Regions from separate parts of the Homo sapiens genome. Here regions 1 and 2 are each linked to region 3. Evidence: promoter capture Hi-C in human tissues and cell types (Jung and others, 2019). All regions are on one chromosome and are shown on one strand. The core of a region is centred on a gene start or on the middle of the fragment in contact, and the rest is flanking DNA. Distances in the headings are between cores, read along the strand shown.

Region 1 (3,985 bases), core at 720-3,219, 140 kb before region 3:
CCAGCACTTTGGGAGGCTGAGGCAGGTGGATCACGAGGTCAGGAGATGGAGACCATCCTGGCTAACATGGTGAAACCCCGCCTCTACTAAAAAAATTCAAAAAATTAGCCGGGCGTGGTGGCACGCGCCTGTAGTCCCAGCTACTCAGGAGGCTGAGGCAGGAGAATGGCATGAACCCAGGAGGCGGAGCTTGCAGTGATCCGAGATCGCGCCACTGCACTCCAGCCTGGGCAACAGAGCGAGGCTCCATCTCAAAAAAAAAAAAAAAAATAATAATAATAATAAAATAAAAATTTTGCCAGGCACAGTGGCTCATGCTTGTAATCCCAGCACTTTGGGAGGCTGAGGCGGGCAGACCATAAGGTCAGGAGTTTGAGACCAGCCTGGCCAATATGGTGAAACCCCGCCTCTGCTAAAAATACAAAAATTAGCCGGGCGTGGTGGTGGGTACCTGTAGTCCCAGCTACTTGGGAGGCTGAAGCAGGACAACCACTTGAACCTGGCAGGCGGGGGGTTGCAGTGAGCCAAGATGGTGCTACTGCACTCCAGCTTGGGTGACAGAGCGTGACTCTGTCTCAAAAGAAAAAAAAGTAAAAAAGAAATAAAACAAAAAATTTAAAAATAAAAAACTTTTTTTTTTTTTTTTTTTTTTTTTGAGACAGTCTCACTCTGTTGGCCAGGCTGGAGTACAGTGGCGTGATCTCGGCTCACCGCAACCTCCACCTTCTGGGTTCAAGCAATTCTTGTGCCTCAGCCTCCTGAGTAGCTGGGACTGCAGGTGTACGCCACCATGCCTGGCTAATTTTTGTATTGTTTTTTCATTCATTAATGAACACATATTACCTAGCACAGAGCTTCAAACACAAGAGGTGCTCAGCACTTAACTGTGTTAACAAAAGTTAAAATGAGTTGCTTACTGATATTTCCAATGTGATTCCCAACAGCCCAATCACTATTACACAGCATTCTATATACACAGCAGCTCCCCTTCACAGCAAAGTGATATTGTATTAAGATAAAATATATGCATCTTTTACTTTGAGGTCAGTCCCCTTAACTATATCAGCATACAGGATCCAGTAGATGGCCCTGTGAAGTAAAGCCTAATGAAAAGATGATCCAATAGATTCAAATGTTTTAATCAGTATAAAGAAGGATGTGAAAATCTGCACTTGCATTTTCAATATTCCCTGGAAAACTATCTGAAATATGAAGTAACATCTATTTTGAAAACTCTCAACTTGTTTGTTTTTTCTAGTAATTGCTGCCAAATATGTGTAATCTTCTGACTACTCCCTCATTCTGCTGGATGACAGACTACCTTAGTGATAGTATATTTTAAGAATGTTTATTACCTTTGATTATTTAAAGAACTTATTCTGGTCCACATATCAAAATAGGTCTTATTCTACAGCTCCTACCCCAAGGACACAGGCTAAGCTCGTGACTGGTAGTCTGGAGTGCCGTGCCTGCACTCTCACTACACAGCATTCCCACTATATTCCCAAACCCCCTTGCCAATCCTCACTCTGTTGGGACCAGGAATAAGGCAAGGAAAGAGATAACTGATTATTATAAGACAATCCACGGCAAGCCAGGTCATCCTTTCTGACTAACCACAACTCTTGTCTCCTTACACCAGTATTTTTCAACCTCAGCAATAGAGATTTTTGGGCCAGATGATTCTTTGTGTGGAGAGCTGCCCTTTGCACTGTAGGATGTTTAGCAGCATCCCTGGCTCTATTCACTAGATACCAGTAGCACCCTCTCCCAGTGGTGACAACCAAAAATGTCTCCAGACATTGCCAAATGTCCAGTGGTTGGGGAGGAGAAGAGCATGTCAAAAATCACTGCTTGAAGCCCCTGTTTAAGAGCCACTGCCTGACGAATAACATTATTAAGGCCACTCAGGAAAGTTTGCTTCCCCTTTGCCATGGTTGCTGCTGCTTCTCAGTCTAAAGCTGACTAGCACATAGTCCCTCCTCTTTTTGTATCAGGCATCCAAATGCCCGCTGTCTCATGGAAGAACATATTTTTGAGACAGAGCCTCGCTGTCGCCAGGCTGGAGTGCAGTGGTGAAATCTGGGCTCACTGCAACCTCCACCTCCAGGGTTCAAGCGATTATCCTGCTCCAGCCTCCCGAGTAGCTGGGACTACAGACATGTGCCACCATGCCCAGCTAATTTTTGTATTTTTAGTAGAGATGGGGTTTCACCACGAGGCCAGGATGGTCTTGATCTCTTGACCTCGTGATCCGCCTCCCTCGGCCTCTGAAAGTGCTGGGATTACAGGTGTGAGCCACCGCGTTCGGCCTATTCACTGTTTTTTTTAAAAGACCTATAAAAACCTCACAGTGCCCAGGAGTAGAAGCTTTAGATGTTGCCCTACTTCTTGACCTCCAACCCCAGCACCTGACAAAGCCCAGTGGGGGACCTCTTGGAGACACCGACAAAGTAAATCCCAATCGCCTTCCACATACATCATCCACTCAACCCAATGGAAATTCACACACCATCCACAGCATCCATTAAGCACCTCCATCCAACCTCAAAGGAAGAGTCTGGTGGGAGGTCAAGTCAAATGATGTCCCTTTTTCAATGAGAATAGATCATAACTATTCAAAAATCTGCATTCAAATGTGCTAAGAAGAATCTGGGTGGGCCTGGCACGGTGGCTCACGCCTGTAATCCCAGCACTTTAGGAGGCCCAGGTGGTCAGATCACCTGAGGTCGGGAGTTCAATACCAGCCTGACCAACATGGAGGAACCTGGTCTCCACTAAAAAATATAAAATTAGCCAGGCGTGGTGGCGCATGGCTGTAATCCCAATTACTTGGGAGGCTGAGGCAGGAGAATTGCTTGAACCCGGGACGGGGAGGTTGTGGTGAGCCGAGATTGCGCCATTGCACTCCAGCCTGGGAAACAAGAGCAAAACTCCGCCTCAAAAAAAAAAAAAAAAAAAAAGGTAGAATCTAGGTGAAAAGAACACAGGAATTTTTGCAGCTTTTTTATAAGTCTGAAATCACTTTTGTAAAAAATTGGAATGGGCCAGGCACGGTGGCTCACGCCTGTAATCTCAGCACTTTGGGAGGCTGAGACGGGCGGATCACAGGGTCAGGAGATTGAGACCATCCTGGCTAACACGGTGAAACCCCGTCTCTACTACAAATACAAAAACTTAGCCGGGCGTGGTGGCAGGCACCTGTAGTCCCAGCTACTCGGGAGGCTGAGGCAGGAGAATGGCGTGAACCCGGGAGGTGGAGGTTGCAGTGAGCTGAGATCACGCCACTGCACTCCAGCCTGGGCGACAGAGTGAGGCTCTATCTCAAAAAAAAAGAAAAAAAAAATTGGAATGGACTGGGCATGGTGGTTCATGCCTGTAATCCCAGCACTTCGGGAAACCAAGGTGGGAGGATCACTTGAAACCAGGAGTTCAAGACCACCTTGGCAATAGATTGAGACCTCGTCTCTAAAAAAAATAAAAATTAAAAAATTAAAAATGTAAATGTATCCCCAAACGGGGATCCGATTGAGGTAATGAAAATGTTCTAGACCAGGCATGATGGTTCACACCTGTAATCCCAGCACTTTGGGAAGGTGAGGCAGGAAGGATTGCTTGAGTTTAGAAGTTCAAGACCAACCTGGACAATATAGCAAGACCTTCTCTCTACAAAAAATAAAAAATTAGCTGGGCACGATGGTTCCAACTTATAGTTCCAGCTACTCAGGAGGTTGAGGTGGGAGAATTGCTTGAGCCCGGGAGGTGGAGGCTGCAGTGAGCCATGGTCATGCCACTGCACTCAGCTTGGGCAACAGAGCAAGATCCTGTGTCCCAGAAAAAAAGAAAAAGAAAAAAAAAAAAAGAAAGAAAAGAAAAATGTTGTAAAACTAATTATAATAATAAATGTTACAACTTGGTAAATTTACTAAAAAATCATTGAATTGTACAGTTAAAATGAGTGACTTTTATGATATATAATTTATGT
Region 2 (4,194 bases), core at 249-2,748, 170 kb before region 3:
ATATATATATATATATATATATTTTTTTTTTTTTTTTTTTTTTTTTTTGAGAAGGAGCCTTGCTCTGTCACCCAGGCTGGAGTGCAGTGGTGCGATCTCAGCTCACTGCAAGCTCTGCCTCCCGGGTTCATGCAATTTTCCTGCCTCAGCCTCCCGAGTAGCTGGGACTACAGGCACCCATCACCACGCCTGGCTAATTTTTTGTATTTTTAGTAGAGATGGGGTTTCACCGTGTTAGCCAGGATGGTCTCGGTCTCCTGACCTCGTGAGCTGCCCACCTCGGCCTCCCAAAGTGTTGGGATTACAGGCGTGAGCCAGGGCACCCGGCCGAGAACTTAAATATTTTAAAGGTGTCTGGTGCTAAGAATATATTCCACCCACTTCACTACCACTCCTTGCAGGTCTTACATGCATTTTAAAGTAAGATTCAGGTTCTAGAAAATGCCTCCTATCATGATGAAAGAAAACCAGGGATCCGTAGTCTTGGAGGTAATTCCATGAACTTGGCTCCAGGAACATAGAAAGAACAGTGCCTACCAGGGGATCCACACGTCTCTCCTATTCTAAGGTTCCATTACATTTGTATTTGCGGCAAAAACAAAGAGGCAAAATATATAAATAAGCAAGTAAGTAAGTAATCAAAAGAGCCTCAAATCTTTTCTCTCCTTGTGAGAAGACAAGACTCTATCATAAAGACTGAGACTGTGAGGCAGACAGGGCATTCAACAAATTCCTTCATCACAGAATCTCCGTAGATTGCTTCTTACAATTTATAAACTCCAACTATTAGCACTCAGAACAACTGAAAAACTGAACCACTAAAATGCAGATTTTTAAAAAACTTTTCAGCTTGTTATAATTTTGTATCTTTTAGAGCAATGGTTCACCTAACATTTATAAAAACCTTAGTCAAAATTTCTCTGGTTAATAATTTATTTCCGTATGCTGGGTGCGGTGGCCCATGCCTGTAATCCCAGCACTTTGGGAGACCAAGGGTGGGGGGGGGGGGGGTGGATCACCTGAGGTCAGGAGTTCGAGACCAGCCTGGCCAACATGGTGAAACCCTGTCTCTACTACAAGTACAAAATTAGCTGGGTGTGGTAATGGGCGCTTCTAATCCCAGCTACTCGGGAGGCTGAGGCAGGAGCATCGCTTGAACCTGGGAGGTGGAGGTTGCAGCGAGCCGAGATTGTGTGATTGCACTCCAGCCTGGGTGAAAAGAGCGAGACTCCATCTCAAAATAAATAAATAAATAATAATAATTTATTTTCACACAAAGATATGGCCTAATTCTTGGTGGAAGTAAAATATCACATTTTGACATATTTTACTGATAATTCTCAGAATTCCCTTCAGAATTCAGAATTCTATAACCTCTATCTTATTTTTTTCCTCTTTCCTGAGTTGATTCCAATCACATAGCAATGAAATAAAAATACTCACAAAGTAGAATATGTACAGAAACAAGATACAGCTTGTTCTTTTCTGACAATTGAATCAGTTAACCCTAAAATAATTATGAGGTATGTAGGGCAAGGGCTTTTAGTCCCAGATAAAAGAGAGGCTCTCTCCTACTGCAATTAGGGACATCCCCCACCTCAACACAGAGTGAAGGGCAGCTGATTTACATCATTTCTTTTCTTCTTTTTCTTCTTTTTTTGGGGACGGAGTCTTGCTCTGTTGCCTAGGCTGGAGTGCAGTGGCGCGATCTCGGCTCACTGCAAGCTCTTCCTCCTGGGTTCACGCCATTCTCCTGTCTCAGCCTCCTGAGTAGTTGGGACTACAGGTGCCGGCCACCACACCTGGCTGATTTTTTTTGTATTTTTAGTAGAGACGGGGTTTCACCCTGTTAGCCAGGATGTTCTCGATCTCCGGACCTCATGATCCGCCCGCCTCGGCCTCCCAAAGTGCTGGGATTACAGGCGTGAGCCCCTGTACCCGGCCTGATTTACATCATTTCTATAACACTTTTATATTCTGAGATGACTACTATTGGAGCTCCCTGGCTCTTTTCTTCTGGAAAAAGTAGACTCTAAATTCAACATCAAGGCATGCTTCATTGAATAGGTCTCTAAACTGAATCACTATAGAGAAAAACAAATAGGGAGTTTGGTAAATAAATGTGGAAAATATAAAGCTTCTTAATTTGCTTTGTTTACCAAAGAATATAATAAAACTATTCCTTTTTCTTAAAAACTTAATGGCAGGAGGTGGTAGAGAACAGCCAAGAGAGCAGACTGAGGCCCACAAGACCTAAGATACTGTACAGGCCTCACTGCTGAGCCCATCACAAAGCCTGCACAGTATTCCCCAGGCATCCCCAAAGAACCAGCAGCTATTCTTCAGGATCCACCATCCAAAAGAGACATTGGAACCGGCAGCGGTGGCTCACACCTGTAATCCCAGCACTTTGGGAGGCTGAGGCGGGTGGATCACCTGAGGTCAGGAGTTCAAGACCAGCCTGGCCAACATGGTGAAATCCCATCTCTACTAAAAATACAAAAATTACCCGGGCATGGTGGCGGGCGCCTGTAATCCCAGCTACTCAGGAGGCTGAGGCAAGAGAATCACCTGAACCTGGGAGGTGGAGGGTGCAGTGAACCAAGATCGTGCCACCACACTCCAGCCTGGGCAACAAGAGCAAAACTCTGTCTCAAAAAAAAAAAAAAAAAAAGGAAAGAAAAGAAATTTGCCACGCATGGTGGCTCATGTCTATAATCCCTACACTTTAGAAGGTCAAGGTGGGAGAACTGCTTGAACCCAGGAGCTCGAGACCAGACCAGCTCAGGGAACACAGTGAGACCCCATCTCCATTGCTATTAAAACAAAATTTTTTAATGGGAAAAAAAATAAAAAGAGACATTATTTCTACTGACCCTTTATCTATCACCTCCCACCCAAGTACTTGAGCTTCCTCAAAGGTATCTTTAGCCCCTCTGCCTGTAACGTCCTCAAAGAGTCTTGCTGACTTGATTTCTGCAGAAATAGTGCCTTGAAAATATTAATAAAATACAGAGCCTCTGGACTTCTGAATACATACTGTTCAACTAATATTTTAGGGAGGTGACTATGCCCCCCTGCTTTTTTTGAGACAGGGTCTTGCTCTGTCACTCAGGCTAGAGTGCACTGGTGTTGTATGATCATAGCTCATTGTAGCCTTGATCTCCTGAGCTCAAGCAATCATCCCACCTCAGCTTCCTGACAAGCTGGGACAATACGTGCATGTCACCAAGTCTGGCTAATTTATTTTATTTTATGCAGACATGGGGTCTTCCTATGATGCCCCGGCTGGTCTTGAACTCCTGGGCTCAAATGATCCTCCTGCCACAGCCTCCCAAAGGGCTGGAATTACAGGTGTTAGCCATCATGCCCAGCCAATTCTCTTCTTAGGCAGAAAGCTATTGACCCAATGCCACTTAGAAGTACCAAGACTAAGAATGGAAGCTTTTTGGGAGGCCAAGGTGGATGGATCACGAGGTCAAGAGATCGAGACCATACTGGCCAACATGGTGAAGCCCCGTCTCTACTAAAAATTAAAAAAAAAATTAGCTGGGCATGGTGGCATGAGCCTGTAGTCCCAATTACTTGGGAGGCTGAGGCAGGAGAATCACTTGAACCCAGGAGGCGGAGGCTGCAGTGAGCCAAGATCGCGCCACTGCACTCTAGCCTCGCGACAGAGCAAGACTCCCATCTCCAAAAAAAAAGAAAGGAAGCTTTAAGTCAGAAAAGGTTCACTGGGATACATGGGATACAAGGTTAGGTCCCTAATCCTTTTTGTTCTACTTATTTTCACAAGCAAATAACACAAAGAATTATCAAACTTCAGCCCTTGATAAAAATGAGGGCTGGCTTCTAACATTGAAGACATGCTATGGTTAAATTAGCCAATATTTGGAAAGCAGCATTTACTGAGCTATAATATCATGGCTGCTACAATATAATGGCTATAATATCTTAACTTTTTTTTTTTTAACAGCAGATATGTATAGAGTGAGGGAATGATTCCTGCACGAAGAAGAAATTTGTAGTAATCCAGGAGTTAGGGAGAAGACAAAGCCAGCATGTCACTAACTATATCCCTGCTGGAGTTGGGATCATGTGCTACAAAGGCATAGCCCATAGCTAGTCATCAAGAAACTCTCCTGATCAGACCTGTATGCCTTGGCAATCTATCACAGACGTAACCCTTGGATG
Region 3 (4,600 bases), core at 723-3,222:
TTGTGTCAGGCAGGAAGGGGACTGATAACTCCAGGGACCAGCTACAGCGTCCACACACACGTGCCAGCAAGCATGCCTGGGTGCACAAAGAATGCAGACACACGTGCCCCTGGGCACCACTGCATACACTGTGCTGTTGCATCTCCCTCGGCAAAAGAGAGCATACACAACACGTACACGTGTGCACACACACCCTGCCACGTGCTCTCACCCACATGCACAGAGCGTGCTTAGGACCAAGAAGAGGTGGAGTACTGCCAGCAGCAGGCAGGGCGCTAAGGAGCCACCCCTTCCCCTGCCTAAAAATCCCCATTCCAGCTTCTCATTGACCCCCATGCCTGGATAGCCATGACCCTCAGGAAAGACAGAAAACATGTATGTGGCATGTGTGGGGTCAGCAAGCTACAGCTTGGCTACACCATAAAACTCAGAGACCCATTGTTTCAAGAATAGTGGGCAGATGGCAGGAAGGACTCAGTGCCAGGCCATTCATTCATTCTGCAGACATCAGCCGAGCATACTGAGATGAGAAACGGGTTCTGCCTTGCAGATACCCAGCCTGCCAGGAGATTCCTACCCAGTGGTGGGGTGGGTCCCATAACCCGAGACCACTCAGAGCCCAGGGACCCCAGAAGTGGCACCAGCCTGGCCTAGAGGAGGTAACACCAAGCCAGGGAGGAAGGTGAAGGGCTCAGTACCCCCTCTGGAGGAAAATTTTGAGGAACCTTGTTTGAGGCGGTCATTTCCTAAGCTAGCCTTCAGTCTGAGCCCCAGCCCCAGCTTCTGGACTTGGACAGTCCCTCCTGTCATCAGCCATGGGTGGCCAGGGCAGCCTCAAGATGGCTGAGGGTTTGGGGATGACCCCAACTCCCTCTCCCACAGCAGGGTCAGGAGGCTCACTGGGAGGAGTGAGGTGGGATAAAACCCAGCTCCAGACACTGAGAGGCCTGAGTCTGGTCTTCAGATACTGGCCTTAGGATGGTCCTCAGGGCTTGTGAGGGGTGTGGGTCAGGCTTTGGGTCCGTGAGCCTCACTGACAAGGGACAGAGAAATGGCCAAGGACTTCCTTTAAAGCTTCCTCCTGGTGGTTCTGAGCCTCCTCCCTCTGATTAGCACCCAGGCCAGGTGGGATACCTTGGTGCCACAGTTCTCCTGTGTCCCCATATCCCAGGCCAGGCCACTAGAGTGATACAACTCATGAAGTGTTTGACAGTGATTAGACTGAAAAGAAAGCAGAGGCCACACCATGTCACAGGTGACTTTTATAGTTTGGGAAATTTGGTGCCACACAGGAAGGGGCTGACTGTGCTGCCACCCTTGCTGGTACTTATGTTTGGGAAAGACTCTGGCCTTGCAGGAGTTGGGGATGGGGTGGGATAGGAGACTTTGCTACTACAGTCTAGGGCCCTCACTGTTTTCACACTGACTACCTGCAAACACACACCTCTGTGTGTTTACTGCTCCTAGCTAGGGGATGCGTAGCTAGGGGATGCTAGGGGATGCCACACTGACTACCTGCAAACACACACCTCTGTGTGTTTACTGCTCCTAGCTAGGGGAGCCTGCCCTAGCCCGACTGCCCATCTGGTTTTTCTAAGTTGGTCCTGCCTTTTGGGTCGGGTTCGGGGAGCTGGGCAAAGCCCCGTTCCCTAGAGACTAATGACTGGCAAGCGATCCTATGCAGCTCCAGGACTCAGGCTTTCCCCCAACTCTCCACTCACCACCCCTTACATTGGGCATAGGAGGCCTCCTCCGGCCCCAGGCTGAGGGCCTAAGGGAGCCATTGAGAACCTTGGCCAGGGCTAAGCAGGCCAGTGCTCACCAGCACCGCTGCCATCCCGCGCGCTCCTGCTCTCCAGTGGGATTCTGCCCTTAAGGCTCCGCCAGGGTCGGGGCGGGGCCGGTTGGGAGGCCCCGCCCCCAGCCCGCCCCCGGCCCGGGGTGCGAATCCGGTGCCGGCAAGCGGCTGGCGATGCTGGAGGTTCGCTAGCCGAAGCGGCTGCATCTGGCGCCGCGTCTGCCCCGCGTGCTCGGAGCGGATTCTGCCCGCCGTCCCCGGAGCCCTCGGCGCCCCGCTGAGCCCGCGATCACTTCCTCCCTGTGACCAACCGGCGCTGCAGGTGCGGGGCGGGCCGGGCTGGGGGCGCTTCCCGAACGCAGGTTGTGGGGCCTTGGGGGATTGTTTCCCTGGCTCGAGGTGCGGGATGCAGAGTGCGCGGGGGCGCAGCGAGGGCTCGAGGTCCTGGCGGGGTCAGAGCGCGCGGGCTTTGCAGATTTGGGGGAGGGAGTGCGGGGTCGGGCTAAAGTTCCCCATTACCTCGGACGGCTTGGGGGTTCTGGGGGGAAGCTTCTGCGGCTCGGAATTGTGAAAAGATTAACCCTCGAAGATTCGTGGTCCCCCGTGAGGATAGGGGCCGAGAGCTGAGCCGTCCCTCCCCGTTCCCAGAGCCGCCTCCAGCCCCTCCCAACTGTCCCCGGGCCCCTTCCCTCCCGCTTAGCAGTCACTAATTTCCATGACAACGGAGAGTTCTTTATGGGCGACAACCCGGAGGGGGCTGGGCGGGGCTGCCGCGGGGTGGGGGAGGAAGCTCCAAGCCCCTGGGGACCAGCAGCCCCCCAGCCAAAATTCAGCTTCCAAGCCTTCACCTGGGTGCCAGCTGGGGGTCCAGTGCATGGACCCACGTGCACGGTGGGGGTGGGGGCGCACATGTTCCTGCTGGGAGGTGCGGGGCTTGGTGCTCACACGTGTGCTTTCCGCATGTGTGTTGCTGTGCCAGCGGGGGCGAGCCAGCAGCACTTGGGAAAGGGGTCAGGGTGGCAGCACGGTGGGGAGCAGGGCCCCTGGCTGGAGGTGGCTGGGATAGTGACAGCATGAGCTTCTGCCTTCCCCAGCTTGTACTGTTTGGCAGAGACCCTGGGCTCTTGAGCCCCAGCCCCCTCCCCGCATAGCTCTGCCAAATTGCTTTTGTCCGCACCTCCCAGGCAGATCCTGCTCCACCAGGTTCCTTCCTAAGGATCAGGGCCCTCTGTCCCACACTAAAAGCTCAGAGTCTGCAGTAGTCCAGTCCCTGTGCTGTACTCCCCTTACCCCCAAGTCCAGGCTTTGAGCCCCCAGGACTACCTTTAGAGACCTGGTGCCCTCCCCCACCCTCAGAGTTGATTCCTGGCAGCTCCAGCGACTTCTGAGCCTCAGTTTCCTCAACTGGGGAACTGGTGTCTCCACTCAGAGTCAGGTTGGTTTCCAGGGTGGGGCAAGGGTCTCCCTTTTCTAATATTTGGTGTGGACCCTTCAGGTGCTCTCCTAGGCTGGCTGTTCACATATCTCTGATGGCCCTACTCTCCAGCCCCATGCCCTGGCCACCATTCACAGGCAGGCAAGCAGTCCTCTGCCCTGGGAGAAGGCCAGATTCCATGGTTTCCATTAGGGGAAACTGAGGCATGGGGAGGTGAAGGGCTGTGTGGTTATCCTGTTTCTGGGTTGCTTGTGGTGCCGTTTCTGGCACTCATGGCAGGATCTGCTGTTGGGGGTTGGTGAGAGGGGATTAAGCAGAGCTGTAAGAGGGGCTCTGGGGACCCAAAGCCTGGAAAGGATAGCAGATGGGGGAGGGGTTGGCTGGGAGGGTCTAAGTACAGCTGGGCCAACTGAGAAGAGGGACTATAAAGGGAAGCAGCCAGGCATCCGAGCCTCATTTCCATACCCCTATGCGTCTGCCTTCAACATGTTGGACCTGCTTTACCTAAGCTGCCGTGATGGCAGAGAGACGGGCTGGGAACTGTCCTGACTGGGGGGCTGCAGCAGCTGGCCTCTTCCCCACCAACATGCTCCAAGGAGCTGGCCTCCTTTTGGCTGTGCCTCCTACACCAAGTTCAGTGTATGTTTGGGGGATACAGGAGGGTGCAGTCTCGAAGGTCCCAGTACCATGGATAGCTCCTGGCCCAGGGATTTAGAGCACATCGCCATGGAGGCCTTAGGGCTCTGCTGGGCACCCATCCGCCCCCTTCAGAACTCCCGTCCACCTCCCCTTTCCTGCCCTTTGTGCCTGTGTCCCTTTTACTTTGTCATCTCCTTGCTCCTCTTCCATCACAGGTTCTGTCTTTGTCTGTGTCTCTGCCCCATTCTCTTTTTTCTAAATTCTCTCCATCTCCCCACCTCCCCTTTCTTGATGGGGACCTGGGTCACAGAACCTTGAAGAAGCAGCCAGGCTAAGGTCTCAGGAAATTCTTGAAGAAGGGACCTGACCAACACATCTCCCCTCCCCCTCCCCTTGTTTTAAAACTTCCATCACCATAGCAACCCTTTACTCTAGTGCCTTCCTCTGCATTTCCCCTCCTCCACCCACAGGGAAGCAGAGCCTCCAGTGGATTCTCCTTCAGGGGTTCAGAGATTTGGACCCCAAGTGCTTGGGAGGAGACAGCTGGCCTTTGGCTTTGCCTGCATGTTGACAGCTAAACTTTCGGGATGTAGCACTGGACTGCATGCCCACCCCCAAAACTGGAGAGACCTCCCCACAATACTCCCTCATTAGATGGGCAAAATTCAGCTGTAGGAACTTCTACCATGATTTAGCTCGAGCCGGAGGCTCAGTCAGGGCAGCCCCTT

What was found. Contacts are between HindIII fragments. The study calls those that stand out against the background at their distance.
Region 1: a fragment that was not itself captured here is called in contact with the fragment with the promoter of CAMKV in region 3 in 1 of the 25 tissues and cell types used here (mesenchymal stem cells).
Region 2: a contact is called between a fragment that was not itself captured here and the fragment with the promoter of CAMKV in region 3, in 2 of the 25 tissues and cell types used here (IMR-90 fibroblasts and lymphoblastoid cells).

What each region holds. Positions count from the first base shown.
Region 1 is chr3:50,011,717-50,015,701 of GRCh38, reverse strand. All of the region lies in intron 6 of RBM6 (RNA binding motif protein 6), which reads right to left. Among named protein-coding and RNA genes, the nearest start is that of RBM6, 74 kb to the right of the region's middle. RefSeq lists an enhancer at 2,209-2,877. The HindIII fragment of the contact is 3,634 bases long and covers 153-3,786 here.
Region 2 is chr3:50,036,300-50,040,493 of GRCh38, reverse strand. The region is part of intron 6 of RBM6 (RNA binding motif protein 6); the gene reads right to left. Among named protein-coding and RNA genes, the nearest start is that of RBM5, 51 kb to the left of the region's middle. The HindIII fragment of the contact is 5,977 bases long and covers 1-4,194 here.
Region 3 is chr3:49,867,278-49,871,877 of GRCh38, reverse strand. It overlaps CAMKV (CaM kinase like vesicle associated), which reads left to right and starts at 1,972. Exons shown (of 11, transcript NM_024046.5): 1 at 1,972-2,120. RefSeq lists enhancers at 2,288-3,219, 3,220-4,152. The HindIII fragment of the contact is 8,966 bases long and covers 1-3,493 here.